Regions from separate parts of the Homo sapiens genome. Here region 2 is linked to region 1. The links are contacts of gene promoters, found by promoter capture Hi-C in human tissues and cell types (Jung and others, 2019). All regions are on one chromosome and are shown on one strand. The core of a region is centred on a gene start or on the middle of the fragment in contact, and the rest is flanking DNA. Distances in the headings are between cores, read along the strand shown.

The links. Contacts are between HindIII fragments. The study calls those that stand out against the background at their distance.
Region 2: a contact is called between a fragment that was not itself captured here and the fragment with the promoter of CTTNBP2 in region 1, in 1 of the 25 tissues and cell types used here (hippocampus).

Annotation. Positions count from the first base shown.
Region 1 is chr7:117,871,594-117,878,385 of GRCh38, forward strand. It overlaps CTTNBP2 (cortactin binding protein 2), which reads right to left and starts at 1,848. Exons shown (of 23, transcript NM_033427.3): 1 at 1,742-1,848. The coding sequence starts at 1,822. The HindIII fragment of the contact is 9,281 bases long and covers 1-6,792 here.
Region 2 is chr7:116,857,649-116,865,326 of GRCh38, forward strand. CAPZA2 (capping actin protein of muscle Z-line subunit alpha 2) reads left to right here and starts at 4,939. Exons shown (of 10, transcript NM_006136.3): 1 at 4,939-5,002. The coding sequence starts at 4,964. RefSeq lists enhancers at 4,557-4,606, 4,558-5,320 and a silencer at 4,687-5,426. The HindIII fragment of the contact is 4,509 bases long and covers 1,572-6,080 here.

The sequences.
Region 1 (6,792 bases), core at 598-3,097:
TTAACACAGAAATCTGCCTGGCGTCCTGGGTTTTGTTTACGATCTAACCAAACAAAACTATATATCAGCTCTACAGACCATCAGTCAGATGTTTGTGTTTGGGTTAATTGTCAGGTGATTAAAATATTGAGGGTAACAGAAACCCATTCTGAGTGGATTAAGTAAACAAATTCAACCTTTCTGGGGAACAAGAAACACACCACACACACACACACACACACACACCCTCTTTCTTTTTCGTCCTTCCCCTTCACACACACACACACACACACACACACACACCCTCTTTCTTTTTCCTCGTCCTTCCCCTTCCCACCTTTTGGGGATGAAGGCACCAAATCATTTCCACTTGCCAGAGAGCCTTGTCTCAATAGCTAGTTTCCTTACTGTGCCCCACAGAGGGGAGCTGATTCACATAAGTGGGCAGGTTTCGTTTGAAATCTTAAAGTTCTCATTTTCTATGCAAAGAATGGAAACTCAATTTTCCCAAAAGTTCAAATCAAAACTTGCCAGTTTTACAAGTGGAAATTAGCAGTCCTCCTCCCCGTTTCTCCTTCCATTGCCAGGCTCAGCTCCTCTCACCCCAAGTACCTTCCTCCACATCTCTCCTCTCCCTCTCCAGAAAGCCCTACCTCCAGAGGGTGGGAGGAAGTTAAAGCGGCCCCCGCTGTTTACGCCCGGCCCTGCCCTCTCCTGCACTGATTCTGCTCAGGTCTTGATAGGAAGAGGGGGGCGTCCACGCCCCGCTCGCTCCATCCCACCCCATCCTTCGGCGGGAGCAGCCAGATCTGGCCAAGAGTGGGAGGCGCTCCCAGATCTGCCTTTCTCTGCAGCTCCTTGCAGCTCCTGCGAAGCTGCTTCCCAAACACCGAGAACCTTTTCCACCCAGGAAATGTGGGTCCAGCCCTTCCCCAAAGTAGAGGCTGGAAACCACCAGCGAGTCTCTACACCGGAATATTAAGGGGGTGAAAGTAAGGACCAGTCAAGAATGGTAGCGCATTCGGCCTCTAGACTCCAGAGAAGGAGAACAATGTCTTGAAACCAGGTGCAGAACCTCCACCTCTCCTGAGCATCGTCTCGGGAAGAACCAATCCATCCACCCCACCCCAATCACTACCACCAAGTAATGGGGCAGCAGGCTGCTAGGACCTAAAGCGCTGGCCTCAGCGGCAGCAGCGCCCACATCTGGACACGGCCCTCTCCCAGTGGGCCTCCCGAAGGCACAGGACCAGATGCACACAATGGGCATCCCCACACCTGCTGGGCGATGGCCCACCTCCCCCAAGCTGCTCTCCCGGGTCCGCTGAGCGGTACCAGGCACCCCCGAGACACGCGCTGGCAACCACGCGCGCAGCGAGAGGTGAACAATGGGGGGTCAAATTCGCCAGGAAACACGTCCCAGCCTTCTCCCCCGGCCAGAAGCGACCGCAGCGGAGGGAGTGGGCATAGGGGTCGCACTGGACGCAGACAGGGAGCTGGGAGAACCGGGCGACCCGGGGCCGCTTCCCGTGGGGCGCGGAAGGGACAGGAGGGATCCCCAGCCAGGGTGGCCGCTCCGCTCCCCCCCGCGGCCTCCGCCGTGTGGGCATCCCGAGGAAGGGGGGCCCCGATGAAGGGGCACCGGAGAGTCCCGGGCTTACGGAACGCCCCGGGGGTGCGAAGTCGGGTCCGGCTGGGACCCCGGCGCCGCCCCCGGCCCGCGTCTACACTAGCCCCGCGCCCGCCCCGGGAACTCGGTTACCGCCGCCTCCGCCGCGGCCCCCGCCGCGTCCTCCGGGGCCCGGGACAAGTCGGGCTCGCAGCTCGCGCCGTCCGTCGCCATCTTCCTGCTCTAGCGGATCCGAATGCGAGCTCGGAGCCGCGGCTCCGGACTCAGCCGTCTCCGCGCGGGCGGCACTTAACCCGCTGCTGTCCGGGACGCGGGCGCCTGGAGCCGGGAGCCGGGAGCCGCGGCACTCCCTCCGCCCCTCGCCACCGCCCTCGCCGCTTAACCCGCTGCGCGCCGGAGCGCCCCGCCTCGGTCCCGCCCCGCGCCCCGCGTCCCGCGCCCGGTGGCGCCAGCCGCGGGCTCGTGGAGGTGCGAGAAATGGGCGCACGACCTGGCTCCGCTGCGGCCCTGCGCGGGGACTGGGGATCAAAGACCACGGAAGAGGTGAAGGCAGAAAGCGCCCGAGGAGCGTTGCATTCCGCAGAACCCCAACCAAGCCGGAGAAATCCGTGCACAGACCAGATTAAATGTCAGGCCTCCTGAATCTGAATTCTCTGAAAGATCAGGGAAAATCCTACACTTCAGCTCCCTCTATCCCACCGCGAGGAATCACACAGGGCACCCCTTTCTTCTTAAATTGCTCTTTCTTAAATTTCATTGCCGCCAGGGTGTTTTTATCCTCCCTATATATATACACACCTGGCTCTGATTTATTCTATCGTTGACTCTAGTGTTTCTCCAAAAACAATTCTCAGATGAAAACGATTTGTCTGTCCTGTTTTCTTTTAGAACGTGGCACCAGCCCCTCAGCTCCTAACTTTCTATACAATCTCCTTTTCAGGGAATGTGTAGCGGGCTGTTTTATATTCTGTGACCCCCCTAAGTCTGAGATCTCTCCTGAAGGACTAACTGAGAAGTGTTAAATGTCATAGCTTTAAAAGCTAAATGTCATGTCCTCTACTTTTGAGAGAATTTAAAAAAATTACTCCCTACGTGTGAGGACACGTGTACATATACACCAAAAACAATCAAACAAAAGCCGTATTTGTAAAAATAGATTTTATGGGAATTACACGTCTCAGAAGATTTTTCATGAGATGAGTGAATTAGGCCCAAACGCTTAATCTTCCCTTTCCACATCTAATTCAGTTCCTACCCTTTGCTGCCAATTTCCAGAATGTGAAAATCTATCACCTCACCAAGACCATATGGTACAGCCCTTCCCAAATCACCAGATCCCTAAAAATGTGTCGAATGCATAAAATCAAATTGAGACATTCAAGCTGTGTCTCAAAGACGTAAAATCAAACCACAACCAAATCTTGCACTTGAAATTTTGGAAGATGAATGACTAGAATGTTCAGTCCAAGGGTTACAGATCAAAGCTTTTTTTTTTTTTTTCCTTTTTTCTTTCTTTCTTTCTTTCTTCTTTTTTTAATGGCAGGCTCCTAATGAAAGGTTTTGACTCTTTAATTGCTCCACTTTCCAAATTAGACCCAAATATGACACAAACCAGGGCAGAGAAAATCTTTTCTGCAAAGACCCTGAAAGGGATTGATTAATAAACTGTGAAAAGTTCCCTCCCAGAAGAGAGGTCAAGAAAGAACTTTACCTAGAACTCTGGGGCTAAAAGTCAGAGGCTTAGAAATCATCTCCAGGTTATCCTGTGAGTACAGGTACTTATTTATTTATTTATTTATTTATTTATATTGGCTCTGATAGTTACTCCCTCACTTATCCCTTTAATATCCATCCCTGTTCATTATACCACTTTCCTTTATTAAGTATACTCTCTAAAACTGCTCAATATTAGAATAACTAGATTTCTTTAAGATTAAAGAAAACCACTGGACAGTAAAAGTTAGATGTCAAACTGATAGTAAAAATTTAAAGTCCAAGGGCATTCCTTGTTCTTTTCAAAATGCACTTCCACACATTGCAAGGCAATCAATTTTCTTGATTCTGATGTTGAATACTTCTCAAGCAATTAACTGGCAAACTTCTGGAAAAAATAATAATAATAAGTTTTACTCAGGGTTAAGAGTTAGAAATATGAAATGACACCATCTCTGGGAAGCAAATCCCTTTTATACATGCAGCCCAATTTTTAAAAAAAAATCACTGGGAAAAAATTAGCTTGTATTCACCTAAATACAATTAAAGCAGGATCATGTTACAAGGAAATCAGTCCTTGCCCACCCCCCCCCCCCACCGCAAACCCCCACCCATCATTTTTTGTTTGTTTTTGTGAAATGGAAAAAAAATAAATAAAACAGTGATAAAAATCACAGGACACCACATTCTCTAACCACCAAAATCCAGTACCTGGGAAGGAGAATTGACAGCATTCTGTTTCCACCTTAAAACCAGCACTGTTGAAGGTTGGCTGAGGATCTCACCTACTGCACAGAAGTGGCACACTAGGAGTTAACTTCCTCACTAGTAGCCTGGCCTGGGGCTGCTTCTCCACCAGGAGGACACTTGCTGGTTTCAATTCTCTCTTGAGAATTAGTCTCTGCTACTATTGCAAATTAACTCTTTCTAAGACTTTCTTTGCACAAAGGCAGGCTCTATTACAGTCAAAGCAAATAGATGTGAAAGGGTATTGACTTGATGGCTCCAGAAATTAAATCTTTTGAAGCCTCATTAAACAGCTAAATAATAATAATAATTAATAATAAAAATAAAAGATATCCCAGGGTTACAGTGAAAATTACTGAAAGGCAGGGTAAAAAAGGAGAAAGATAGAAGTATAAACAGGAGGAAAATAAATCCCTACAACAAAAATGAATCATGAGTCTTAATCAGTAAATTCCTTTTGGCATTAAAATGGAAGGAGTAATACTGAATATATTGCAAATAGAGAAAACTATTATTTACATCCTTTTTTTGGATCATAACGATGCTGATGACCCACTGACTAAAGAATTTGAGGGTAATTATTTTCCAAACCCTGGAATAGAGGTATTTGTGTTGAGCTATAGCACACTCTCTAAGGGTGAAATGACCAGGGAAATGAGTTCTTAAAGGTGGGAATGCAGACAGATGTTTGGGAGCCAAGTGGTTTTCTGATTAAACCATGTCCTTGGCTTCATCAGCCATATCCTCCAACCCACTAAACCAAAAACCCAGAGTTATACATATGATACAACAGGATGCTTCCTTCCATGTGAAAAGATAAAGGAATATACACAGAACCTAAAACTCTTTCCGTCATGGAGTAAGAGAATTATTTATTTCAGTCAAATGACAACATTTATGTTAATTCCAAAGAGCAAACCATATGTCATCATGTCTTAGTATTGCCAAATGACAAAATTATTGAGTAGCAAATCATTTCTGACTGTATCCTCAAGCCTATAGTTATACAATTTAAATATTGCAGACCATGCTTGTCCCTGTCTGCAGCATGGTGACCAACCTAGGAAGCCCCAAATCTTGACGTCAGGAACTCCGCAGATGAGCTCTGAGTGTCCATTGCCAGAAACAAGTTTTCCTATGACCTAACTACATTCCCTCATAGCACATGTCATTAGCTACATGTGCCTCAGGCTTTTTGTGGATTTTACTCAGTAAATTTAATTCTAATCTAGTTAGCCACTCTTGTCAACAATCTATGGTTTTGGAAGGCCTCCTCCACCAACTGCAGTTGGTGTGTGCCAAAGGAATGCAAGCTAATTTTACCTAAGCTAAAGCAAAACATAATTAGGGAATTAAATCTGCTATGTAGGAAGCAAGCCAAAGCGAAACATAAATAATTATCATAATCACTCCCAGCCCCTTTTAATACAACCTTTAACTGGGAACTGTATCTGTTCATTCAATTGCTGAAATAATGTACAAATATAAGATTTGACTGCAAGGTTAGAGCCACATTAAGAAAATCATCCCCCGGTACAGTCACTCTAAGAACAGAAACCAGCTAATACCAAACAATGAAGTAGTGTTGGTTCCATTCTCTTGCATGGTTTTTACATTTTAAATCATTAGTTGTTGGTTTGGATGCTTATCTGCAGAAGTCATTTACAAGAGTAAATTTTAGTGCAGAAAGATGTTTTAGTGCAATACCATTATGGAAAAACAATTTTAACAAAAAAAAAAATCTGGCCTGCTCTTGCCCCTTATCCACCTGAATTGGAAATGGACCTGAATATTTCTGTTTATTCAGCCTCTTTAGCAAACTCACAAGCCTGCAGTATATAGTTACTAGGCAATCATTAAAGCAGGGGTGTTTATACCATTAGGCATTACTCATAGTGGAGCTTCATTTATCTTAGAAAGTTTAAAAACTATATAAATATGTTGTGAGATCAGGCCCTTTTCTCCTCTGATTAGAAGTGTGGATCCAGCTGCAAAACCACAGCTGAGATTTTTCTTTCACTTGGGGATATGCACTGTTCAACACAAAAGGAAATTTAGTGTTCGAAGAATTAATAAGAACACTAAAGATGTTATCTTTTGATTTTAATAAATATGCATATGGCATTTATGATTGACTCAGTGAGGATTTACTTAGGATACAAAAAGCAGGAGAAAAGCTATACATGTGTAACTCTCCTGTGTCAAATTGTGAAATAAACCAATACATTAACACTTCCTAGACAATCATAATCAATTGTCATATACCAAATTAATAGAGTTTCAAATACATTTGGAATTTTTGAGATGTAAATTTCACCTTACCCTGCCTCAAATCTCACTTGATGACAATAGTTTGTGGCTGTTTTTTTTTGTCCATCAAGACTTTTTTTATTAATCCAAATTAGTTGGGGTTATTTAAAAATCACCTGGAAATGTGATGACATTATTTGAAAATATAAAAATATATATAGTAGGGGCTGTTCAATTAACCAATAAGTATACAATATAATTTAATTTATAATATTTATAAAACAATGTCATGGCTAGACTTGAAGGATTAATTTATTTCACTTGATTCAAGAACTGAAGGGAAAAAAATGCGTTGGTATTGCTATTTTCATTCTGGGGAAGGTGAAGTTACTTGTAGAATAATAAGGAAAAATACTTCTAACACACCATCATTAAGGTTTAAGCAGCTTGAAATGTTTTATTCTGGCAATTAA
Region 2 (7,678 bases), core at 2,576-5,075, 1.0 Mb before region 1:
GAAATTAGGAAGGATAGCACGTTCGGGACGGAGGAGGGGTTGAAAAAGAAGTGTTGGCTGGGCGTGGTGGCTCACGCCTGTAATCCCAGCACTTTGGGAGGCTGAGGCTGGTGAATCATGAGGTCAGGAGATCGAGACCATCCTGGCCAACATGGTGAAACCCCGTCTCTACTAAAAATACAAAAATTAGCCGGGTGTGGTGGCACACACCTATAATCCCAGCTACTCAGGAGGCTGAGGCAGAAGAATCACTTGAACCTGGGAGGCAGAGATTGTAGTGAGCAGAGATGGCAGCCCGGCACTCCAGCCTGGCAAGAGAGCAAGGCAAGACTCCATCTCAAAAACAAAAAAAAAGAAAAAAAGAAAAAGAAAAAGAAGAAGAAGGTCTTCAATAATTCCTGAGTAACTCTAGAATGATCTACGTCAGGCTTCTCCAGGGGCACTACTTGTGTGTACCTTTTCAAAACTAGCTGAGGAAATGGACCGCAGGTATACACTCAACTATAAATAACTTAAGCAATTATTTGTTTAGAAAGATAATTACTTTTAAAATATATGAGTTTTTACACTTTTCCACAGCCATAAAGGACTTTACTTGAGACCAGTTGTGTTAATTGACCATGACATTAACAAACAACCAAATGTTAGTTGTCTAACACTGATAGTTTTTCTCAGAAGCGAGGTAAGTCAAATTTTAAGCTGCAGATGTTAGTTTTCTGGTGCAGAGATGGTACTATAGAAGTCTATATCTGGTACAATCACTTAATGATCACACAGTAATACTATTATTCATCTTATTTTACATTATTTGGTATGGATATGTACATAAAAGAACATGAGTCTGACCATCAGGATACTTGGATCCTAAAATAATATTAGCTAGATGTGCAATTTTTATTATGTCATTTATTTATCTAAGGCTCAACTCATCTGTAAAGAGAGAGGTTTGTAGTAGATGCACCCTAAGATTGTTTTTCTGTGAAATTGGGTAACCACTGGTCTTGACAAGTTTAAAACGTAGTTGAATAATTCGAGTATATCCATAGGAAAATCGATGTAAAAGTATACAAGTAACTTAAAAACAAACACTATAAAAGGAAGAAAAATTCTGGTGATGTTAATTGGAAAGACCAAGATCAGACCATGAATAAGCAGAAGAAAGGTAAGTTTGGCCAGGCGTGGTGGCTCACACCTGTAATCCCAGCACTTTGGGAGGCCAAGGTGGGTGGACCACAAGGTCAGGAGTTCGAGACCAGCCTGGCCAACATGGTGAAACTCCATCTCTACTAAAAATACAAAAATTAGCTGGGCATGATGGCAGGTGCCTGTAGTCCCAGCTACTCGGGAGGCTGAGGCAGGAGAATAGCTTGAACCTGGGAGGCAGAGGTTGCAGTGAGCCGAGATCATGACACAGAACTCCAGCCTGGGCAACAGAGCGAGACTGTGTCTCAAAAAAAAAAACAAAAACAAAAAACAGCCAAAAACAAAAAGAAGAGAAGTAAGTTTGGAAATTAATTAAGAAAAGGGTAGAAATTCTTAGTAGGTAAAATCATGTATAGGATAAATATTTTGTTTATTTTCTCCTCCTCATAAAACAACTGATTATCCAAGACTACCAGTACATTTTTCCTTGCAGTCATATAACAATAATTTCATATTTTACCTATTTGTGTGACAGCTTAAAATCTTTCTAGAATACATAGGCTACGCAAATTTTAGAATTCCTTTTAATTGTACCAAGAGGGTGGTATTGGAAGATTACTGAAAAGATTATCAGAAATTATACATAATTGTGGGTTGTGTCACTATGGGAAACCACATGTATTGTATCACTAAGGTTACAATTATAAACACACTCTGACTCAAATTATTGCAAAACATTACCATATTTGGGTGAGGTTTCTAGAGGAAGAGAGCAGCCAATTAATCAAGCAATAATATTTGCTGAGTATCCACTGTATACAAAATACTAATATAGGTGTTGCTGAGTAAACAGGAAAAAAGACAGGAAAAAAAACAAAACCAGAAGTACTGCTGATGCAGCACAGGGTGGTGAATTGAATTTACAGGATGGGATAGTAATTGCCTTCATTAAGTTTTATTTGGTGGACAGTGCCCAGACTTAAGAGGAAGAAAGAAAAATCTTGCAGTGGAAAGAACATGAAATATAAAATAAGATGCCTAGGTTCCAATCCCAGCTCGGTCACTTAGGAGCTATGCAATCTTTTTCTTTCTTTCTTTCTTTCTTTCTTTCTTTCTTTCTTTCTTTCTTTCTTTTTTTTTTTTTTTTTAGATGGAGTTTTGCTCTTGTTGCCCAGGCAACCTCCGCCTCCTGGGTTCAAGTGATTCTCTTGCCTCAGCCTCCCAAGTAGCTGGGATTACAGGTGTGAGCCACCACGCCCAGCTAATTTTTGTATTTTTAGTAGAGACAGGGTTTCCTCATGTTGGCCAGGCTGGTCTCAAACTCCTGACCTCAGGTGATCTGCCCACCTCTGCCTCCCAAAGTGCTGGGATCTATGCAATCTTAAATCATTTAGCCTCATTTTTTTCTTCTGTAAAATGGGTATAATGGTACTGATAAGAACCTCACTTGAGGTTGCAGTGAGAAATCAATGAAGCAATGATTTGTAATCTATAAGAGTAAACATGTTAATTTTCATCCAGTGTTACCCTTGGTTAAACTATGTGGTTTATTCTCTTTATCTTCTTCACAACGTTTATCCTCGAAAGGACACCTGCTTTTTTCTGCATGTGTCAGCATGCTTCTCCTTCCTCTTCTCTCCCCAAATGAACCATCAGTTTTTCAATATCATAGCTTCTGTTTGCCGTCCATTCACAAAAAACAATGATTTGCACATTATGAACACCCAATAAATTACTTAATAATAAGGTCTTGCCTCTGAACATTTATTTGATACTCTCACATTTCATTTATGTGCAGCTGTCAGATTCATCTTGCTGCACATATTTCTGATCATGTCATGTCACTGTTCAAAAGTTCTCAACAGTTCCTCACGGAATCTGAACGCCTATCTTAAACCCTAAGGCCTTACCACTCAAAATGTGGTCTCCAGATCAGGAGCACTGGCATCAGCTGGGAGCCTGTTATTCTACAGGCTGTATTCTGGAGAATACAGATTCTCCAGTCTCATGCCACATCTATTGAATTAACAACTTCGTTTTCACAAGATTCCCAATTGATTCATATCTACGCAGCTTTGATTACATGTTTAATCTCTCATAAACTTCAAGCTTCAAAAGCAGGGTTGCTAGATTTAGCAAATAAAAGTAAAGGATGTCCAGTAAAATTTGAAAACAATGAGTAATTTTTTGGTTTAAGTATGTCTCCACTGCTTCATGGGACATACTTTTTAAAAGATTGCTTATCTGCAATTCACATTTGATTAAGTGTCCTATATTTAATATGGCAAACCTATTCAGGAGGGTAGGATCCATGTCTAACATAGCTTTGTATTCCCCTGGAATAGTACAGTGCCTTCCCCAACTGTTTTTGTTTTTTTTTGTTTTGCTTTTTGAGACAGAGTCTTGCTCTGTCACCCAGGCTGGAGTACAGTGGCGCGACCTCGGCTGACTGCAACCTCCGTCTCCCGGGTTGCAGGGACAGGGACAACCTCCGCCTCTCGGGTTGCAATGACTTCTGCAACTCTCCTGCCTCAGCCTCCCGAGTAGCTGGTATTACAGGTATGCGCCACCACGCCCCGGATAATTTTTGTATTTTTAGTAGAGACGGGGTTTCTTCATGTTGGCCAATCTGGTCACGAACTCCTGACCTCAGATGATCTGCCCACGGAGGCCTCCCAAATTGCTGGGATTACAGGCCTGAGCTACCGCGCCCGGCCCCAACTGTTCAATATATGTTTGTTTAATGAGTAGAAAATGAGCTTCTTGAGTATGGAAGTTTCTCTTTTTATTTCAACAGTTTTGGAATACAGGTGGATTTTTGGTAACATGGATAAGTCCTTTAGCGGTAACTTCTGAGATTTTAGTGCACCCATCACCTGAGCAGTGTACCCTGTACCCAATACGTAGTAATTTATCCCCTCCCCAGTCCCCAAAGTCCATTTTATCATTCTTATGCCTTTGAACCCACATAGCTTAGCTCCCACTTATAAGTGAGAACATAAAATATTTGGTTTCCCATTCCTGAGTTACTTCACTTAGAATAATGGCCTCCAGCTCCTTCCAAGTTGCTGCAAAAGGCATTATTTCGTTCCTTTTTATGGCTGAGTAGTATTCCATGGTGTATATACCCACATTTGCTCTATCCACTCATTGGTTGATGGACACTTAGGTTGGTTCCATCTCTTTGCAATTGCGAATTGTGCTGCTATGAACATGTATGTCTAGCTTGCTTTTTTCCCCCTCAACACTGTATCCCCAGAGACTAACACAGTGCCCCGCACCCCGTTAAAGAACCAAAAAATATTTGTTGGATGAATAAAGGAGTATATCAAGAGCAATCTTTCAATTATGGAGAGGGTCGTGATGTGTATTTTAATGAAAGCCAACTATCTTCTCTAATATTTGAAAAAACAATGTTTAAAAGGCTTCTATTTGTACACCTTTTCACATTTTAGCTGGCAGAGTTCAGGACTTGATGGAAACATAACGAAGGGCTCAGAATGTACTCATCGCAGACTGAGCCCATATGGTCACAGTGGGGAGAGCACGCTGCACTCAAGATGCTAGCAAGCCTGCAGCAGGCGGCCCAGCGAGACACGGTCCCCCGCCCGGCCACCAGGCGCCCGCGCACGCGCACAGCCGCGCTCAGTCCGCGAGGGCCGGGTCGAGGGAGGCGGGGCTCCCGGGGTGCGCGTGCGCGGCGGCCTGAGCGGCGGGCCCCTCCCTTAGCGGGGGCGCGCGGCGCTGAGGACCGCACGGAAACGGGGAAGTCAGGTGGCCGCTGCCGCCGCCGCCGCCGCGGTTTGTCGCCAGAAGGAAGATGGCGGATCTGGAGGAGCAGTTGTCTGATGAAGAGAAGGTAAGAGTCGCGGGGGCGACGGCGCGGGCTGTCAGGAGCCGGCTCAGCCCGGGCGGGTGGGCCCGGAGTCTGGTCGCGGGGGAAGGGCATTGGCCCGCAGCTGGCCTTGCCCTCGGCTGCCCTTCCTCCCCCATCCTTACTGCGCCCAGTGCCTGCCCCTGTCCGTCACCCGAGGCCCCGCGCGGGGGCAGGTCTCTGCCAGGCCTGCTCGCTCCGCTCCTTGTAGGGTGTGTACTCCGAAAATAGGAAGCGGGAGCCGGGCGACGGCGGGCGGGGGCGCGGGCGCGGGGGAGGGCGGCGGCTGCCCAGGACCCTCTCCTGCTGTCGGGCCGCGGGGCCTCCGCCGGGGCCGGGGACCGGGGACCAGGGACGCAAAGGGGTTTGCGTCCGTGCGTGGGAGCGGCCCAAGGGCAGTGCCCAGCGCGGCGGCCTGGCCTGTGAGTGTAGCGGCGGGTGAGGGGAAGGGAAAAATCGCTTAGGAAGCAGACCTTCACTTCTCCCTTCTACTTCCCCCTCCTCAAAGCAAAATGCTTCCTTTTCTGATCCTCTACGGTTTATCCTTTTTTTTCCCTTTCCCCATGGAGGCATCTCTCCCTCCTTCTCTCTTTCCTTTCGTGGCTCTAGCAGTAAGCTTGCAGCTCCCATGTTCCCCAGGAGGCAGCGGAGTTGCTCACAAAAAGACGACCCCCTCCCCATAGTTGTTTTCTGCCCACGTTGGCAGCAGCCCCCCCCCGGGGGTCGATTTGGTGGCACCTCACTTTCCTGCTAGGACTTCTTCCGAAGAGGGGAAAATGTGCAACTCCTTTTACTGTATATTAGATGCTGTGACAGCAATGGAACCAGATGAACGACTTAAGTTCTCAGATATTTAAAACGAGTAATGGAATAATTCATTGAACTGCTGCTCTCTTAATTCGCCCCTTTCGTTTGGCTTTTGGGAACGTCCCATTCCCGAGGGTGGTGGGGTAGGGGAGAACCCTGCTAATTTTGACTGTTTCTCGGAAAGGACCCTTAGAAGTAACTGACAGAACATAGGAATGAGTTAGTTGCAGGGTTGGAAATGTCCACTCTTCGTTAAAGAGTGCTTCATTTTTAAATTTCAAAGCCAGTGCAGGAAAATACAGGTACATTTAGGTATGTTGTGGTGTTTAAGAAATCTTCATGTAAGTCTGAGGATATTTTCATTTAGGACCCTCTGCTCTAGATGTTTTTATATGCTGTGTTCTTGCACCGAAATAGAAGGTTCTGTCCCATTCCCAATGTGAATGGTCAGAAGTCAGCCTCATCTTTATTTTCGGAAATCTTTTTTTCTCTTGTGTTCTTCGGTGAAAGTGATAATACAACAACAAAATGGGGGCGAGCAACGTCTCCATAGCCCACAGACCCAGTAGGCAGATCCCCGTATCCACAAAAGTTGCTGTACAGTATTCAATGTATAATCTTGATAAATAATCCTATTTTATTTAGGTGACTGAAAGTGTACAGGAGTGCACAAACATATTTAAAATTGAGGCGTGCTAAAAAGCTTAAAAAGAGATTGTCGTGTTTTTATTCTACCATTCTTAAGTGATGATTAGTAGCTCAAGTGGCTAGAAATCTAGCTGAAGAGAGACTACTCGGTGTGGGAGTTAATATAGACCTGCCATGTGTTGTAAAGGCCTAAAATAAAAAAGTTTTTTAAAAATGAGATAACAAGATGCCTTATTATCTGGCACTCTCAGGGCACTAAGCTTCATAAAGAGGAATGAGGAGGTTGTGTGTCTTAAAGCCTGTGCCGCCTAGTAGCAAAATGTTTTATGGTTAAATGAATGAAAATTCTAATTTGATTTTTGATGTTTTGTAAGAATATTATGTAGATATTTTACATATAAATTTTATCACTATATTTACTAATTTAAAAACTGACAAAACCTTTAGGTTAAATTCAAGTAACCAGTAAAGTGAAATTTTAACGTTCTTGTCACTTGAGATATCTAAAGGTTATTTTCATTTTGGGGGAGGAGGATGTGTCCAGTATGGGATCAGAAAACAGAGAGGACTTAAAAGTGATATTTTAATATTACTCGTTCTACTGCCTTATTGGTAATTTTCAAAAATAAGCTCTTAAGCTGGGCACGGTGGTTTGCACCTGTAATGCCAACTACTCTGGATGCCAAGGTGTGGAGGATCGCTTGAGCCCAGGAGTTGTAGACCAGCCTGGTAACATAGCGAGACCTCATCTCTAAAAAAAAATATTAAGTTTTGAATACTTTTAAGTTTTTGAAATTTCCATTCTAGATTGCAAATTTAAGGAAGAGAAGCTGTTAAGATGTGTCTAGTACCATACTTTATATATGCTTGGCTCAGTTAGATACATTCATTACTTAATTTGTTGTTGTAAGAGGTAGTTCTATTACCATTTCACAGATGAGTAGAGTGAGGTTCAAAAGCTTTAAGTAGTTCACCCAAGGACGGTCAAGATGAAGGTAGTATTTAAAGTTTGTCTTAGTCCAACGTTGATGTTCTTGTGACATTATGCGCTCTCTTCTTTTTTTTTTTTTTTTTTTTTTTTTTGATACAGAGTCCCACTCTGTCACGCAGGCTGGAGTGCAGTGGTGCAATCTTGGCTCACTGCAACCTCTGCCTCCGGGGCTGAAGCGATTCTTCTGCCTCAGCCTCCCGAGTAGCTGGGATAAC